Regions from separate parts of the Homo sapiens genome. Here regions 1, 2 and 4 are each linked to region 3. The links are contacts of gene promoters, found by promoter capture Hi-C in blood cells and fetal thymus (Javierre and others, 2016). All regions are on one chromosome and are shown on one strand. Each heading gives the region's core, a stretch centred on a gene start or on the middle of the fragment in contact. The rest is flanking DNA. Distances are from core to core; before and after follow the strand shown. Region 1 has its middle 70 kb from the start of PDP1. Region 2 overlaps INTS8 (integrator complex subunit 8). Region 3 holds the start of RAD54B (RAD54 homolog B). Region 4 has its middle 130 kb from the start of CDH17.

Region 1 (3,252 bases), core at 236-2,735, 490 kb after region 3:
AGCAAATCACAGGGCCAGTTCAGGTTCAAGGGGAGGGGAAATAGACCCATCTCTTGGAGTGGCAGGTGCTTAGAGGGTTGGGAGAAAAGGCTGGTGGCCTTCTCTGCAGCAATCTTTCACATGCTCCTAGACTAGGCTAGTTCTATCACATAGAGAACTGTTCCCTTCTCTGTAAAACTAAGTGCACTTGTAAATACTTATTCAATGTCTATCTACATTCTCCTATCGCCTCCCACATCAGCCTGAAAAATCGATTAGAACAGGAATCCTGTTTATGTTAATTGCTGATTAGAACTGTGGGATGAATGAATGAATGAGTAGGTGAACATGCATGCTATAGTCCAGGCATACGGTGCAGCTACCACTCATGTAATGTATGTAGTTTTCCTTTGTTGGTAATCATAAGCTTGATACTTAAAGTCATGTGGCACTTCCTCTCCTCTGGAAATATTGACCAGTATCTAATGAGGATTAAAGTTTGATGATTTGTAAGGGCACAGAAAAGCTTACAGTCCTTAAGAGTGCTTGGAAAATTCTTACTTCTCTAGGAGGAAAAGACAATGATTATGTTATCAGCAATTTGTCTTAAAGTTATTGCAACATGCCTTCTTTTTTGGTGCCTGGAAGTCATTACTGCAATATTAGAATAACTGGCCTTGCTGATGTTTGACTATAAGTGGTTGTTCTGAAAACACATTGGAAAATCCCTGCCCCAGTCCCCGTCTATCTTTTGTGTGTGTGTGTGTTTTTAATGTTAACAAAAACCAGAAGGGGAGTTTAAGAGAAAAGCAAAACCAAACATGGTTATGCAGCATTCATGGGAGTTTGTTTCAGAAGCTCACATTTCAAATGCTGAATTAATTGCAGGCTTATAAAAGTAAGAGTGAAAAAGAAAATTTTCAGAACCAGGAAATAAAAAAAGAGCAAGTCTGGGAAATCAACCAATGTGCTTTTCTTTTGAATTTTTTTTTCCATGAAAACAGAACAGGATGTGAGGCACAGGGAAATTGGGACTTTTTTTAGCCAGAGCAGGGTTTGAAAAACCTGGTTTTGACCTATGAGTCGTCTGATGCACAGATGCCAACCCTGGAGCCCTTCTGGTTGCTGCCCATCTCCTCGGCCTTCATCTGCATGACCAGCTGAGCTGAGCCAAGGCCTGTGACAAGCAGGAACTGGATTATCAGCCACCCTTGCATTGTGTCTCATATGTTCCTCTCTATATTAATCATGCTTAGGTGCCAGGAGTATTTGCTAGCATTCCTAAGATGAAATGAGTTCCTGTTGGCAATAAGTAATTGTTCATTTAAAAGACAACTTAAAATGTTTAAAATATGTGTGTGTGTGTTTGGGAGGAGTATATATATGTGTGTGTATACATATGTAAAACTTCATCAGCAGATTAAAAAGAGAGTCTTAAATTAGAAGAATTCAGGCAAGCATGGCCTCTTATCCTCGTAGAGCAAACACTCCACATCTCAAAGCTGAGAATGACATGTTTTTCATTTGGATTTCTAGGCCTAAGTTCAGCATTTATTTCTTTATAAATACATATAAACAAAGTCTCCAGGCAACCATCATGAAATAAAAGCAACTAGTTCTGAAAAGCAGAATAATGGCTTTCATTTTAGTCTTCTTTTTTGCTACTTGGGAAATCTCTCCCACTCTACACCACTCCCACCAATCGCCCATACACATTCCCCAGTAAAAACAATAGTAGTTTATGGGTTTTTTCACCACCAAAGAGGGAAAAATGTCTTGAGCCTCAACATATTAAATATCAGAGTTAAATGGGTTCACAAAATTCCATTGGTTAGTACCCTAAGTTGGCTGATCTTAGCTAAAACAAACATCAAAGAATGCGGGAGTGCTCACTGGCTTCTAGGATCATCTGCCTCATGCAGGTTGCTTTTCTTGCTGTATGGCTGCCTAGCAACCTGCCACCAGCCAGTCTCACTCCTTCCTGCTCATTTCCTTACACTGGTCCCCAAAGGCTTTCCTACTTGTTTGTCCTACAGTAGCAGGATCTAAACACCCAATGCCCGCAAGAGTGGCTTGGAAGTTGTTTGGGATAAGATCGTGGCAGTCCTTGAATGCCAAGCCCTGGAGTCTCCCACTAATTTGAGAGATAATGGAGAGCCACTGTCACTTGGAAGCAGCAGACCAATGTGATCAGAGCTGGCCCCTGTTTAGGAGGCTGTGAGGTAACAGACCACAGTGACAGCCACAGGGATGAAACAGGATGCAGAAAAAGAGCTGCATGCCTGTGGTAGAAGACACGTTGGCTGTGGGAGCCCTGGAGATACCAAAGGCGCTGCCATGCTTCAGGTCTGGGGTGGGGCCATCTGCAGATGCAGTGAGTCAGGAAGCTACACGGAGAGAACTGTAAGAACCACACTGCACTTAATGAGTCTGAAGGGTCAAAGGAACAGAGAGGCTGAGGTGCCCACATTCTCCCCAAAGCTTCCTCTAGGAGGAAAATCACCACAGAGACTATTCGAGGAGCTATGTGACTGTGTGGCTTCCTTCAAATCACAAAAGTGCTGTGAGGGAGTGGACAGGTTGGGACAACTTGTAGTGATTTCCCCAAAGCCTCACTATGCCACTACCGGCCCACAGGGCTGTCCCATGATGCAGGCTGAGCCACGTGTAGTACCTCCTCCCACTGGCCTGTGATTGGCCTAAACTGGGCAAGAGTCTGTGGCTAAGGAATCAGAGTCATTTCTTGGAAATGTCTACAGAGGTCTCCATCTGGAAAGATTTGAGCCTAGAACATGTTCCTCACCAGTGAATGCAGCCCATCTTCAAAAGGAGAGAATAAAACCCTTTTATTATTACCACTTTTATTGCTATTTATTATGAAAATTACCTTTCCAGAGGTAAGCAAAGACAAGAACTTTACCTGGTAGGGATCCAGTCCCTGAGTCCAGCCAACTCTGAGGCTAGGCTTTTTCTTGGCTGGGTCACATGAGCTAATAGATTCCCTTTTTATGGATTAAACAAGTTCAAGTTGGGTTTTAGTCACTTGTAACTTAAGAAACCCTGCATAATATTGCACTGCCATCTTGATTATACAGACAAGGGAACTGAGGCTCAGAGGTCAACTAAATCATCATAGAAACGTATATTAAGGCACAAGGTTTTGAAGCTGGATTTGTCTGGACTCCAAAGCCAGAGTTCTTTTCTTATACCATTTTGCCTCCCAATTGATCCCACAATTGCTGTTCTCAAGAGAAGGGGTAAATAAACAGACAT
Region 2 (3,357 bases), core at 171-2,670, 370 kb before region 3:
AAAAGTGGTATAAAATGGCTCAGAAACAGGCCCATACATGTATAAACACCCGGCATACAATAGAGGTGGCCCTAGAGATTGGTGGGAAAAAAATTAACCTTTCAGTAAATGGTGCTGGCACACTTCCTGCTTCACACAAAAATCAACTGTAGGTTGATCAAAGACCTAAACGTGAAAGGAAGGCTATGCTATAAAGCTTTTAGAAGATAATAATAGAAGAATATCTTCATGACACAATAGGAAAAAGCTTTCTTAAACAACACACAGAAATCACTACAACGGAAAAAAATCGGTAAATTTGATATTAAATTTAGGAGCTTTGGAACAATATAAAGAAAACTAAGCTGGGCGTGGTGGCTCATGCCTGTAATCACAGCACTTTGGGAAGCCAAGGTGAGTGGATCACCTGAGCTCAACAGTTCGAGCCCAGCCTGGACAACGTGACAAAACCCCATCTTTACCAAAAATAAAAAAAATTAGCCAGGCGTGGTGGCACATGCCTGTAGTCCCAGCTACTCAGGAGGCTGAGGTGGGAGGATGGCTTGAACCCAGGAGGTGGAGGTTACAGTGAACTGAGATCACAGCACTGCACTCCAACTGGGTGATAGAGTGAGACCCGTCTCAAACAAAAAAAAAAAAAAAAGAAAAACTAAAAGTCAAACTCAGTGAAGATATCTGCAATATTTAAAATTGGTAAAAAAGAGAATATATATAGATCTCCTACAAAAAAGAAAGCTCCTTCCAAAGAACAGACAATATAATAGAAAAATGAGACATAACATGGCCGGGCACGGCTCATGCCTGTAATCCCAGGACTTTGGGAGGCTAAAGTGGGTGGATCACTTGAGGTCAGGAGTTCAAGACCAGCCTGGCCAAAATGGCAAAACCCCGTCGCTACTAAAAATACAAAAATTAGCAGGGCGTGGTGGTGGGCACCTGTAATCCCAGCTACTCCGGAGGCTGAGGCCGGAGAATCACTTGAAACTGGGAGGTGGAGGTTGCAGTGAGCTGAAATTGTACCACTGCACTCCAGCCTGGGCAACAAGAGCAGAACTCTGGCCAGGCACGGTGGCTCACACCTGTAATCCTATCACTTTGGAAGGCCAAGGCAGGCAGATAACCTGAGGTCAGGAGTTTGAGCCCAGCCAGGCCAACATGGCAAAACCCTGTCTCTACTAAAAATACAAAAATTAGCCAGGCGTGGTAGCGCACGCCCGTAGTCCTAGCTACTCAGGAGGCTGAGGCAGGAGAATCGCTTGAACCTGGGAGGCGGAGGTTGCAGTGAGCCGAGATCACGCCACTGCACTAAAGCCTGGCCAGGCAACAGAGGGGGCCCCATCTCAAAAAATAAAAAAATAAAAAAAAAAAAGCAGAACTCTATCTCAAAAAAAAAAAGAGGCATAACACTTGGAAAAGGTACCTCAAAAAACAAAATCCATGAGTAAAAATTAAATGAAGAGTTGTAGAAATGAAAACCTCAATGAGGTACTGTTATACAACCACCTCACAGGCGATCTGACAATATCAAATGTTAACAAGGATGTTGACTGATGAGAACACTCAGGCATGCTGGTGGTTATAAGCCACTTGGTTTTTAAAAATTAATGTTGCAGATATATTATTCCCTAGGTATGTAACATAAACTGGTACGTATGCACACCTAGATATATGTACAAGTATGTTCCAAGCGGCAAAAACTATAAACAACACAAATGTCCCTCCATCATATGTGTATACAGCCAAAAACTATAAAACACACAAATGTCCCCCATCATAAGACTGAAGAAATTGTGGCGTGGTCCATATAATATTCTAACTTTTTTTTTTTTGAGATGGAGTCTCTCACTGTTGCCCAGGCTGGAGTGCAGTGGCGTAATCTCCACTCATTGAAACCTCTGCCTCCTAGTTTCAAGCGATTCTCCTGCCTCAGCCTCCCAAGTAGCTGGGATTACAGGCACTTGCCAGCACGCTCGGCTAATTTTTTGTATTTTTAGTAGAGACGGAGTTTCACTATGTTTACCAGGCTGGTCTTGAACTCCTGACCTTGTGATCCACTCGCCTTGGCCTCCCAAAGTGCTGAGATTACAGGTGTGAGCCACTGCACCCAGGCTCTAACACCTTAAAGCAATGAAAAAAATTGTTATTTATATACAACTTGAATAAATCTCACAAATAAATCTCTTTAGTGAAAGAAGATGATGAATACACATTGTATGATTCCATTTATATGAAGTTCAAAATAGGCAAATTAAAGAATGTTCTTTAAGGATACATACAGAGGTGATACAAATATAAAAGAAAGCAAGAAAATTATGATCACAAAAGCCAGGGCAGTAGCTACCTCAAGGGAAGGTAGAGGAGGTTGTAAAGACCACAACAAAGGCTTCTAGAGTGCTGGCAACGTTGTATTTTTGGAAGTAAGTGGTATTATCTGTGCTTTATGTACTTCTCTCAATGTCTCTAACATTAAGACTGTTAAGAAAGAAGTAGAGTGATCCAGTAGAAACACAGATTCCACAGCACACATGACAGACAAGAGGCTTGATTTGGGAGTTCTTAGTAAACAGGTGATGAAACAGATGAGTGAAGCTTTGGAAGTAAATAAAAAATGATGAGTGAGCCAAGGACAAAAGTTCTATGAACAGAAATACTAAAGGAAGAGCAATAGAGAAGTCAATGAAGGACTAAGGAGAATCCAATAAAGATGCTGAAGAAACATGGAGCGAACTAGAAAAAGAGCTACAGCAGAAGACCAGGCGGAAGGGCATAGTCTGTCAAAAGTGCCAATTGTCAGGCACAGAAACGCAAGGCAGACAGGAAAAAAGGAACTGGATTTGGCAATTAAGAGGTCACTGGTAAGCTTAAAGCAAATTATAAATCAAAAGGGGAAAGAAAAACATGTCATACCTCAAGAAGAAAGTCTATTTTCTCTTTATTTGGTCTAAGAAATAGCTGGTTAAATTGAACACTAATTGTTCTGCCTTCCAGTATATCACGGACTGTATTACAGGCACAAACTTTAAAACAGATTTCATCTAGAGCTTCATTTCTGTAGAATACAAAAGTAGATCAACTAATGTTATTTTTACTACAAAAGAAAGGTGTATATTATACAACTATATTCACAAGAATGAGCCATTTATTCTTAAGAGGTAAGATTTTAGAATATTCAAGCATACCAATAAATATATACCAAATCATGGGGAGAAAGAAAGCAGAATAGGTTTTGAATTTATCAAGGGACAATGTAGTTACATATTAGACAACAGAATGGAATTTTGCTATGTATAATTTTTCTCCCAAGCAGTTTTTTTTTTTTTTTCTTTTGAGACGGAGTCTTGCTTTGTCACCCAGGCT
Region 3 (3,252 bases), core at 295-2,794:
CCTGCCCTCATGTAGCTTATATTCTGAGAGTAATAGAAAAACAATTAACAAATAAGTATATGTTAGGGAATGGAAAGTGTGATGAACTCTATAAAGCAGGGTAAGGGAGATACAAGATGAGACAAGAGAGCAATGCACTGTCAGATAAAGCCCTTTGACAAGTTGATATGTGAGTAATGATCTGAAGTGAAGGATCAAACCAGATGCAAATCTGCAAGAGGAATGTCCCAGGTCACCTTTAGCCAATCTGTTTTAGATTTTCTGAACTCCCCAGATGATATTAAGGTAGGCTGCAGACACTATGAAGCTAGCTTGTTTTCTGGTTACCCTTACTCTTTATGTGTCCCAGTCCAAAGAAGAGGGGGGTGCGGTTTACTAAGGTGCCCAACCTTGGCAGGTCCCCATTTCAAATTCTTGTAACGCTGGCTCCAGGAGCTGCCAAAAGCACAACTCAACCTATGAGGTGCTCTTTATGACTGGAAAAAGTCCCCAGGATAAAAGCTCCTTAAGCACATTACTCTTTTTTTTTGAAACAGGGTCTCTCTGCTGCCCAGGCTGGAGTGCTGCGGCACCATCTCGGTTCATTGCAGCCTTCACCTCCCAGGTTCAAGCGATTCTCCCGCCTTAGTCTGCTGAGTAGCTGGGATTACAGGCGCGCTCCACCAAAACCAGCTAATTTTTGTATTTTTAGTACAGACCGGGTTTCACCATGTTGGCCAGGCTGGTCTCGAACTCCTGACCTCAAGTGATCCGCCCGCCTCGGCCTCCCAAAGTACTGGGATTACAGGCACAAGCCACCGCTCTCAGCCTCAAATTACTCTTTTAAATGGCTGTACCTATTTACACTCCTACCAGCAGCCCAAGAGTTCCCATTGTTTCACATCTTCATTTCACCCTTGATATTTTTTAGCTTTTACTTTTTGTCAAACTGCTGGATAAAACTCAATAAACAACCTTTAGCCATTCTCTCTCCTTTCAGATTAGCCTTTCTAATACCATTTTTCAGGGATAGTTGACTGTGTTACCGCCTAGCACTTAGAAGGTGCTCAGTAAATACTCATTGAATGATGTAACTTTCCTACTTAACATGCTTTAATGCTTTTCCAAGTCCGGAGGCGGCTCCCCTTTTCTGAGAGCCTAATAATCACGTATTCGTTTCTATATTCCCAGAACCTAACAAAGAGTTTGAAAATTATCCTGCAGGCACCGCTAAGTCAATGTTTTTTCGGATGAATGAATAACCAATAGGATATCGTATACTTCTGCGATGCACGCATTTCTATTATCGCACACACCGAATCATACCGTATTTATTACTTATCCACGCAGATGGTGAGGTCTGTAGCCTCGGCATCTACACTGTGTCTGAAAGTAGGCACTAAACCAGTATTTTTTTAATTGAACCGTAAACTTGAATCAAACTTGGAAGCATTTAAAGCCAAACGCAAAGATACATGCGCAGTGATGCAGTAGGGTCGTCCAATCAGAGTAGGGCAGGACAGGGCAGTGCAGCGGCTAGGTAGTGCGCACGCGCGGCGGGCTCGTCCGCGATTGGCTTCGCCGAGGCGGGATCCTTGAGCTTCTCCGGCGGCGAGGGGATAGCTGGTTACCAGAAGGACTTCTTTGCAGGGCCAGTGGTTTCTGTCAGATTTTCGCCGGTGCGTCCTGCAGGGGGAAGCTCGGGAGGCTGCGACAGCCTGTAGGCTCGTGCGGGACAAAGCAGGGAGTGGCGCCGGAGCAGGCCAACGAGGGAGGAGGGAGGGAAGGCGGCAGGAGCGACCGAAGTGGCCTTCTGCGGGCCTGCAGCTTTGGTCTGAAGTGCCAGGGACGCCCTGGTTGCTGGCCCCGGGGGCCTTGGAGCGAAGGGCGGGCGGTGGGGGTTTAGGGTTGTGCGTTTGTGTGGGAGGGATGGTTCTGGGCAGTGGCCCCTGGGGCCGCCACTGCGGTCGCTTTGCGCAGGCTCCTCTTGGCTTTTGGGTCTCTCCCTCACTCCTGCACTGGGAATTTCCTTCCCCAGGGCCAGGGGGTGAAGGCTCTGCGAGCGTCCTGGAGAGTGTCGGTACGCCTTCTTTAGGGGCTTTTACCTCTTCACTGGTCAGGTTTTTCTTGTATTTCCTTAAAACCTTTTAATCGATTACCTTATGGAAGATTTTCTAGGTAGGAACAGATGCTTCTCGACTTACTACGGGGTTGAAAATATCCCAAATGGAAAATGGATTTAAAACACAGCTAACCTACTGAGTATTAAAGCTTGGCCTAGCCTACTTTTGTTATCAAAAAAATTATTTTCAGCTGTTTATTTTAGATTTGGGGGTACATGTGCAGGTTTGTTGCATCGGTATATTACGTGGTGCTGAGGTTTGGATACGATTGATCCTGTCACCCAGGTAGTGAGCATGTTACCCAATAGTTTTTGAACCCTTGCTCCTCCTTTCCTCTCCCTTCTAGTTGTCTCCACTGTCTATTGTTGCCATCTTTATGTTCATGAATGCCCAATGTTTAGCTCCCATTTATAAGTGAGAACATGCAATATTTGATTTTCTGTTTCTGCTTTAATTCGCTTTGGATAATAGCCTCCAGCTGCACCCATGTTGCTGCAAAGGACATGATTTCATTCCTTTTTATGGCTGCGCTAGCCTACCTTAAACATGCTCAGAACACTTACCTTAATCTACAGTTGGGCAAAATCATGAACACAGACGGTTGTGTGGTTACTTGTACAGTTTCTACTGAATGCTCATGGCTTTCTTAAAAGTCGAAGAATTCTAAGTGACACCGTCCTAAATTAGGAACCATCTATATAGCCGGAGTCTCAAAGGAGCAATTTAAGGCATGAAGTGAAATAATTACTACCTAATGTAGTTGGAAGTCGACAAGCAGCAACAGCAGGGAGAGACCGTTGCTGGTTCTTGGTAGAGTTGGTGTACTTACATTCTTGCATCCTCGACGTTTGATGGTTGCACATACCTCTCTTTAAAGCCCAGACGAACCCAAAGATTCTGGTCATTGTCCTGTATGTTGAACTACCCCTTCTCTATCTCCTTCACAGGACCTTCATCATTTCTACTCTCCGATAATACTAATTATAACAGATAACATTGAGTGCTTACTATGTGTCAAGTTTTGTTCTAAGTGCTTTACATATTTCATTTAATCCTCCCAACAGTCCGGTGTGTAAGCATGATTATGGTACCCCCTCTTAAAGATGAGGAAACTGAGACACATGGAGCCAAAGTAAACTGTGCAAGACCA
Region 4 (2,966 bases), core at 37-2,536, 400 kb after region 3:
AGGGACACAAATATTCAGACGATAGTAGTGCCTATCTATTCTATTCAATTATCTTAATATTTCTGGACGATTCTTACGCAGTTAGAACACACTAATGTGTTGCAATCAGTCGCAAGATGGAAAGATGGTCTATAGTAATTATAACTAATTACTATCAGCTTGTTACTAGTGTGTACTAGTACTGCCAATAACTAACTTAAAAATTAGCGTGGTCTCCAGGTTCTCCCAGTTGAATGGCTATCTAGCTCCCTTGCATTTGGAAGTGCTTTCAGGAGTGGGTAAGAAGAACAGAGCTGCAGAGAAGGCAACAGGACTTGCATGCTGCTGCATAGGAGTCATTTGTTTCACATCACATAGAAAAAGATTCAGAACTTTGGTACGGTTTGATTGATTACCATGTCTGCCAACAATGAGTCAAAACGCATTGCCTTGCTACTCCCTAGCTTTGTGCTAATCAATACCTGAGCATGTTTGTCATTTTCTACTAGGCTGAGTATAAGTCTTATTCCTTCACAATGTCCACATTTTACTGTAGCTGAGAGGGCCTTAATTATTTCATTTTTTTAGCAAAATTTACAAATGCAGTAAATTAGCTCCATTTTAAGTTTCATAAAGATTCTTGAAATGTTTGCTCATATCTGGCTCAGCTAAAAAGATGTCATGGGACTGGATGACCAGTTGGAAGTGAGAGAAGGTGACGGGTGATGGATGGAAATGTCTGAACTGCTTTGAAGTTCTTAGTAGGCTTTTGTGAGGGAAATACCTTTACTTATGACCTGGAAGATCAGTATACTGTCGTAATTTATGAAATAAACCAAATTAGAAACCACTTAAATAAAACTAAAGAAGTAAGAATCTTGGACAAAAGCCAAGAATGATTTTCCACTTCAGGAAAGATGTGAACCGCAATCTATAAGGCACACTGATCTGAAATGCTGACTCTATAGATGGGAAATCCCCCAGAAATTGGCAAGGACAGGAGAATATTAATACATTTATGCATTGGCATTAAATGCACAGTTTGTAAACTTGCTTTCTGTTCAGAAAGATTCTTTATGGCATTACTAGAATGTTCACTGCCTTCAAAATTGACAGTTATCTTTGTATAGTGTCATTTTTCATGATTATGCTACTCTGTATGTATTACAAAGGCAATTAAGGTGGCATACATTTATTGAGCACCTGCTATTTTCCAGCAACTGTGCTGAGTGGGAGAACAATTGAAAGGTAATTGTCATGCAGTATAACAAGAGCTAAAATAGAGATAGGTAAAAACTTCGATGGGAGGAAAAAGTGCTTTGTATTCATTTTATCCTAATTTCTTACAAACGTGATCCTATAAAGCAATTATTATTCCATTTTATAGTGAAGGAAATTGAGGCACAAAAAAGCAGATTTTACATCACTAACATTAGAGTCCCACTGTCATCATCATTTATACTTACTGAGCACTTACTAAATGCTTGGGCTTGATATTCATTTTCTCATTTAATGTTCACAGTAACACCCAAGGTTGAAAGAGGTTCATTCATTCAACATTGAGCACCTATTGTTTCCTAGGTAGGGGAATGCAATGATGAATAAGCTGCAGTCCCTGCCTTTAAAGAATGTTTAACCTAATTTATAAATTACTTGTACAAGACACTGGCGCTAGTAAAGGCTGAGCTGGGATTTAAATACAGGTCTATCTGGCTTTAGTACTAGCGGTCCATCCCATACTCACTGACACTCATTCACTCACTTGCTGTGTGAGGTTCCAGGCCAGATAGCCAGGTGACACAGCCAGGAAGTCACCAGGGGATCAAACAGCTGGGAAGTGACCCCAGATCTCCTATATTAGTCCAGTGTCCTTCCTATACCACTGCAGCCCTCATGACCCCAAACTGGGCAAACTCCATGGAAAACACTGGGTGGGGTTGGGATGTGGTCTCACCTGGCTCTGAGGCCCCACTCAAAAATGGCATCCATTTGCCAGTCTGACTGAGAGCCCAACAGCCGCATCCCCTCCCCACTGCTGAAGAGAGGTGTCCACTGCATCCCTCACCCTTTGCTTCTTTTTCCCGGGCTGACTGCACGATGCCAGGGATTTAGTGTAGGCTTTTCTTATTTATTCTTGTCTCCTTGAGGTTTTGCTTATGTGTACTTTTTAGTTTCCAAAGTGCTGAAAGATATATTGTCTTTTTAAATTCCGGGCAGCTCACTGCAGAGCTACTCACAGAAACAACACATTTTTAAAGAAGAGGTTGCTACAGATGTAGCATGCACTTTAATTTAGAGTTGTCCTTGTCACACTGTTGGAGCCATTGGTCTTGACCTCTGGGATTTATCTAGCTTAATGATGGTTGCAGCAAATATTATTTTTGCCTGGATTTTTACATTTTTAGAAGAAGGTTCAGGATTGTTTAAATACAGTTTAAATCTATTTAATTGAGTAAGCATTTTAAAGTTTGTTGAAGTGTAACCATCAATAATGGAATCTCCTAGGTTAGAGGCTAAGAGGATGGCAGGAATAAATTAGGCAGTCTGTGTCCTCTGGGGGGCTCTGATTTAATTGAAAGAGGTTTTTTTTGTTTTTCTTTTTTTTAGAGTAGTGATTGAGAGCAGGGTTTGGTAAACTTTTTTTTGCAGAATCAGATAGCAAACACTTTTGGGTGTGTGGGCCATGTGGTCTCTGTCACAACTACCTAAGTCTGCTTTTTTAGCCTAAGAGCAGCCATAGATGATAGCAAAAAAATGGGCATGGTTATGTTTCAATAAAACTTTATTTACAAAAACAAGCAGTGGGCCAGATTTGCCCATGGGCCATAGTTGGCTGCCTCCTGTTTACAGTAACCTCTCTACCATCAGACTGCCCATTTTACCACCCTGGTTCTGTCTCTCACTGTGGGACTTTGGGAAATCCACTGAATCCCTTCAAGCCTCAGATTTCACATCTATGAAGTGGGGAAGGAATACTGGTTTCCTTG

The links. Contacts are between HindIII fragments. The CHiCAGO score rates a contact against its expected background, and 5 or more counts as called.
Region 1: a fragment that was not itself captured here is called in contact with the fragment with the promoter of RAD54B in region 3 in 5 of 17 cell types (naive CD4 T cells, activated CD4 T cells, total CD4 T cells and 2 more); the score reaches 7.0 in naive CD4 T cells.
Region 2: a fragment that was not itself captured here is called in contact with the fragment with the promoter of RAD54B in region 3 in 1 of 17 cell types (monocytes); the score reaches 6.0 in monocytes.
Region 4: a contact is called between a fragment that was not itself captured here and the fragment with the promoter of RAD54B in region 3, in 1 of 17 cell types (activated CD4 T cells). The highest score is 5.1, in activated CD4 T cells.

The regions. Positions count from the first base shown.
Region 1 is chr8:93,984,922-93,988,173 of GRCh38, reverse strand. No RefSeq gene overlaps it. Among named protein-coding and RNA genes, the nearest start is that of PDP1, 70 kb to the right of the region's middle. RefSeq lists enhancers at 2,135-2,184, 2,255-2,374. The HindIII fragment of the contact is 1,955 bases long and covers 508-2,462 here.
Region 2 is chr8:94,842,039-94,845,395 of GRCh38, reverse strand. INTS8 (integrator complex subunit 8) reads right to left here. Exons shown (of 27, transcript NM_017864.4): 10 at 2,908-3,049. Among named protein-coding and RNA genes, the nearest start is that of INTS8, 20 kb to the right of the region's middle. The HindIII fragment of the contact is 2,342 bases long and covers 250-2,591 here.
Region 3 is chr8:94,473,407-94,476,658 of GRCh38, reverse strand. It overlaps RAD54B (RAD54 homolog B), which reads left to right and starts at 1,544. Exons shown (of 15, transcript NM_012415.3): 1 at 1,544-1,658. RefSeq lists an enhancer at 1,582-1,811. The HindIII fragment of the contact is 4,488 bases long and covers 1-2,252 here.
Region 4 is chr8:94,073,432-94,076,397 of GRCh38, reverse strand. No RefSeq gene overlaps it. Among named protein-coding and RNA genes, the nearest start is that of CDH17, 130 kb to the left of the region's middle. The HindIII fragment of the contact is 5,091 bases long and covers 1-2,966 here.